2 separate regions of the Homo sapiens genome follow, and region 2 is linked to region 1. The links are contacts of gene promoters, found by promoter capture Hi-C in blood cells and fetal thymus (Javierre and others, 2016). All regions are on one chromosome and are shown on one strand. Each heading gives the region's core, a stretch centred on a gene start or on the middle of the fragment in contact. The rest is flanking DNA. Distances are from core to core; before and after follow the strand shown.

Evidence for each region. Contacts are between HindIII fragments. The CHiCAGO score rates a contact against its expected background, and 5 or more counts as called.
Region 2: a fragment that was not itself captured here is called in contact with the fragment with the promoter of EGFLAM in region 1 in 1 of 17 cell types (M1 macrophages); the score reaches 5.3 in M1 macrophages.

The regions. Positions count from the first base shown.
Region 1 is chr5:38,257,199-38,259,898 of GRCh38, reverse strand. EGFLAM (EGF like, fibronectin type III and laminin G domains) reads right to left here and starts at 1,340. Exons shown (of 22, transcript NM_152403.4): 1 at 1,048-1,340. The coding sequence starts at 1,144. LOC124900966 (a long non-coding RNA gene) reads left to right here and starts at 1,233. Exons shown (of 2, transcript XR_007058739.1): 1 at 1,233-1,305; 2 at 2,268-2,700. RefSeq lists an enhancer at 2,209-2,700. The HindIII fragment of the contact is 7,534 bases long and covers 1-2,700 here.
Region 2 is chr5:38,838,285-38,840,984 of GRCh38, reverse strand. The region is part of intron 1 of OSMR-DT (OSMR divergent transcript); the gene reads left to right. Among named protein-coding and RNA genes, the nearest start is that of OSMR-DT, 6.2 kb to the left of the region's middle. The HindIII fragment of the contact is 379 bases long and covers 1,254-1,632 here.

The DNA.
Region 1 (2,700 bases), core at 91-2,590:
GGATCCCGCTAAGACGATTTTCTCTGCCCTCTGATAAATTTTCCTAGCTTTGCCTCTTTCTTACAGAAACGTTTGTGAAGACAAACTGCACTTTCTGTGAGGTTTTGCAGACTGCATTCAAATAAAAGTAATATTGTTTTCCATTGTTCATAAGATATAATTAATCCCATAAGACAACCTCCCTTACAAAGTAAGTTAAGACAAAACAGATTTTTCAGAATTCTAAATATGGTCCCAGCAAAAAGTAATAAAAATCGTTATTTGGGAAACAATGTTTAGAACTTCATTGTTCAGAATGTTCTACTTTGAATAATCTCACAGCATAGGCCAAATCAAAGTAGACCAAAATAAACGAAGACTTTTTACCTATATGCAGCTAGAGGAAACACACGTTATTATGGTTTCAAGTTCTCCCCCAATTCCCAGTCCCTTATAACAGGTTACAACGTACATTTCTTTGTTTAAATGCCAAAGCAAAGACAGGAGTTCAAAACACGGTAAAATTAACCCACTGGGTGCTTCCTTCTGAACAAATGGCCCCAGAGTGGAAGAGGATGCTAAGAGCAGAGTCCACATCCCTGCACAACGCGTGGGCAGGACCCGAGATGGGCAGAGGGGGCTCCAGGCAACCCTTCAGACACTTAACAGGAAATGGCTGGGCTCTGGACAATATGAATTGAGTAAAATGTTTGGAGACGCAGGAGGGGCTGGTTTGACTCCTCTGCATGGTTGCCATCCTCTGTAATTGAGACAGCACGATCGCTGTCCCAACTGTCAGCTCTCTGCGGTCAAACACGGGGACCACCACCTCTATCTACTATGTCTGGAAAATTGATCATTCTTTTAATAAATAAATATCCCTAGCGCCGCCCGGGCTCGGGGGAGGGCGAGGTTTGCGTCTTTTCTCAGCTCCTGGCAGAGCTGAAGCGAGTTAAGCAGACGTTGGTCGGGGAGAGGGAGGCGGTGCGCTGCCCGCTCTGTGTCCTCGCCCCGGAGCCCAGCAGGGGCGCTCGGGGCGTGGTGGCTCTGGGCGGAGGAGCGCATTACCTGGTTTTCGGATGGCCGCTCGGAGCGACACCGCGCCGGGTCCGAGGCTGGAAGCCAGGAGCAGGAGCCGGAGCAAGACGCCTCGGATTAAATCCATTTCGCAGCCGGCGCCTGCAAAGTTTCACCAAGTCCCGGGCGCACACGGAAAGGGCGTCTCCGGGGGCGCGTGGGGGACGCGGCCCCAACGGATCCCCGGGCCGGGGCGAGGAGGTGGGGGGCTGCGAGGGCTGGGCCCGGAAACACGGGTAGTTCCAAGAGGTAGGACTGCAGCCGGGAGGTCGGCGTGCGCGAGTGAAGCCGGCTGCAAGCTGCAGGGCTTTTCGCGGGGGCGGGGGCGACGAAGGAGGCCGACTGGGAGGGAAGGGCTGGCCGCGGGAGGGAGGGAGGCTCGACCGGCCCGGGGATGAAATTACAATCGAGTGGAAGTGAGAGGGACAGGCCCTGAAACCTTCACTCCTCGCCCACCTCGGAAGCAGACAGCCCGCCCCTCACCCTCTCTAGCGACCCCCAGCGCAGCCCTTCCCCGCTGGTGACCTAGATTGGGGACCTGGGAGGGACCGACTTCAAGCACTGGAGACGCAGGGCAGGAGTTAGGCGACTGCGGGTCCAGGACCCTCCGCGGTCCTCACCCTGAAATCTTGGGGCGCCCCCCCTCCACCCCACCTGGGCCCTCCTCCTGCCGCGCCCCTCTAGGCGACTTTTTCTAACACCTCAAAGGTTGCTGTAGTTGGTCCAGCGCACTTGGGGGATGCGAGGGGTAGACGGGGGTCTGTGATTTGCAAGTGGGGTGGGGGTGAGAGGAAGAGAGGCGGGACCGTCCGGGTCTGAGGCGCTAAGAAGATAAATGGGATTTAAGGCTCGCAGATGGAGAGCTGAGGCCAGGCCGCTCAGACTGGGACGCCGGGTGGAGATTAGGGCCTGGAGCGGGGGAGTGGGGGCCCTTCCCGGCAGAGGAAGGCAACTTGAGACCCTCCTGGGGAGGAGATGAAACTCCAAGTTAAGCCTGGCGTCTTAGGGAGGGACGCGAGCTCGAGCCCCCAGGCGGACCGAGAAAAGCCCCTGGGCGGCGCCCAGCTGGGCCTGGGGCAGGGGGCCGGGGCGGGGTCCTGGCCTCTGATCCCGGGATCGGGCTTCCTGGGTTGTCTCCTGAATGGAGAAAGACTCTTTCTCCGCCGCTGAATTTGCTGCCCTAGGACTCAGTAAAATGTACCTTTTGCCAGATTTCGCGGTAGTGCCTGGAGAGGGGAGACCCTGCCTGGGACACAAGTCCCGTTGCATACTGGCGTTCTGACCTCCAAACCAGCGAGAAGAGAAAGCAGATACAATAAATAAACCAAGAGGGAATAAACTTAGAGGCAAACGCGGCCCTCGGCAGTTCCTGGGGAAAGATCAAAGGCCGTAGGAAGTGCCCCGCAGAGGAAATCTGCAGTCACTAGCGACAGGACCGCGCCCGCCCCCTCCCCACCTTGCAACGCTGCCAGGACTCGGTGGGCGTCCTGGCTCTTCACAGTTAGCCTATGTTTGGGAGCGCGGGAGGAAACAATGTTGACTGATATATTCTTCTCCCCTCCCCAGCCCCCCAAACACACACACACAGGATTTCTACTCCTCTTTTAAGAATGAAATATCCCCTGGCTGGAGAGTTTGTAATGA
Region 2 (2,700 bases), core at 194-2,693, 580 kb before region 1:
AGCAAGATGTTGAGCGTAAGAAGACTATGTGGGACTTTCTCATTTTATCATTTTAGGAATTCCCTATAATTACTTAATGATGAATTGCTTTTCTTTCAAAATCTCTTAAGTGATGAATAATATTATCCACAATAATTCTACAGGAATTCCTTGATTAAACTAGATATTATCTGAAAATTGATTGATTGATTGATGGATGGATTTTGCACATTCCACCCTCTTCCAGATGTTGTAATTGTGCTCACACCTTCTTCCAGAAGTCATCAGAAACCAGACAATGAGGAGAACCTCCCTGGATCTTTTACTTTTTTTCCCTCAGGGACTTTAGGGAAAATATTGAATATTGATAGCTGCTTTTATTCTCTTGGCCTGTGGTTATGGCACTTACTAAATTTGAGTGCAGTTGTTAATGCTAAAGTTTAGAACATTAATACAGTGAGAGAGAAATACTTTGGAGAGAATTAGATGGGAACTTTCTGGATATTTGAAAACTATTGGCTTAAGGTTGATCCGAAATAAGTCTATAGTTGTGTTTATATTTAAACTGAATCTCTTACAGAAAACATATAGTTGAGACTTTTTTTTAGAAGTTGACTGACAATCTCTGCATTTTAATTTGATAGAGAGTGTTTAGTAGACTTATATTTAAGGCAGTTATTGATATGCTTGTGTTTAGCCTACCATTTTACTATAGGTTTTGTGTTTTGTTCTCTCTGGTTTTGTTTTTTTATTCTTCTTTTTCTTCTTTTTTTTCTGGACTATATAAATACTTTTTATCTTTTTATATTTCCATTTTAATTTTTTTAGAGTTGGGGTCTCACTCCATTGCCCAGGCTGGTCTCAAACTCCTGACCTTAAGCGATCCTTCCGCCTCAGCCTCCCAAGTAGCTGATATTACAAGCATGAGCCACCATATCTGCCTTTGAACGCTTTTTAAATTTCATTTTTATTTGCCTTTGTCTTTTTCTTATTTCTCTTTGCATGATGTCTTAATGTTTTCTCTATGGATTACAGTGTACATTCTTAAATTTCACTGTGTACTTGAAATAGTATTGTACCTTTTCACTTAATAGGTCCATTTAACCACACACCCCATCCTTTACACTATAGTTGTAAAGTGTATTACATCTACAGACAAGATAAAACCCACAATATAGTATGTATTTTAAAGAAATTAAGAGGAAAACTACTCTTTTATATTTATACACATATTTACCTTTAATGTTCTTAAATCCTTCCCAAAGATCTAAGCTTCTCTCTGGTAGCATTTCTGTAAGCCTAACAAACTTACTTTAGTATATTTTTTATTGGAAGTCTATTGGAGATACATAGTATTAGTCTTATTTTATTTGAAAATATCTTTATTTCACTTCGTCCTCAAGGAATATTTTTGTTGGATAGAATTCTATTTTCTTTCAACTATTTAAAGATACTGTTCTACATTTTACTGCCTTTCATTGCTTCTGATGAGAAGTCAGCCATTATTTGATTCTTCTTTCCTCTGTCAATATAATGTGTCATTTTTTCTCTGGTTTAAATATTTTCTCATTATCTTTGATTGTCAATAGTTTATCAACTATGTGCTTAGAAGTTTTAAAATTATTATTTACCCTGCCTGGCATTTGCTAAGCTTCTTGAATTTATAAATTTATGTCTTTTACCAAATTGGAGAATTTTTCAGCCTGTATATCTTTTTAGTACCTTTTCTGCACCATTATCTTTCTTATCTTTTTGAAATTCCGACTACAAGTATGTCAGACCCCTTAATATAGTCCTAAATGCCCATGAGCCTCTGTTGTTTTTCAACTTTTTTTCTGTGCTCTTCAGATTCAATAATTTCTATTGAACTATCTTTAAGCTTACAAATTCCTTTTGTGTTATATTCGTTGGGCTATTATATCCATCTAGTAAATTTTGTGTCATATATATGGTATATTTCAGTTCTAGAATTTCAATCTGTTCTTTTAAAATATATTGTCTATTTCTATACTGGTTGTCCCTATTCTTTTTATTATTATGAACATATTTTCCTTTGCTTCATTGAGCATAGTTATTATAGTTGCTGCTTTTAAAACATTGCTTCATTATTCCAATATTTACATCATCTTTTAGTCAATCTCCACTGATTTTTTTCTTTTATAAGAATGGATTACATTTTCCTGTTTTTTTTATTTACCTATTTTTGGATTGTCAAATAATTTTGGAGTGCAACCTGTGCGTTATAAATATTATGTGATGAAGATTCTGTTCTATTCCTCCAATGACACTGATTATCTTTTAAAATGGCAAGCAGTGTGGTTAAACTCAAACTGCAAACCTGATATTGCTTACAGTAAGTAGAAGCTCAAATCTGAATTCACTTTTTAATGTTGACCAGGCTGCTTTGAGTTTGCCTTGCACAAGCATGGTTCAGAGATTATCCAATAATTGGTATTTATTTTAAATACAGAATTTGGGCTTCTTCCTCTCTTGCTCCCTCCTTTATGTTTTCCCGCCTCACTTTCCAAATAATGTTGTTGCTGTGAACCCTGACCCCTGGTTCTTCAAACTAGAAATATTGCATATTTTCTAACAGAGTTTTAGCTACCTCACATTGCACAGACATGCACTAGTCTTGGGCTGAGGGTCATAAAATTTGGGAAAGTTGCTCCATGCCTTTCCTCTGCCAAGTGTTGACTTTCCTCCACAATCTGCCTGGTG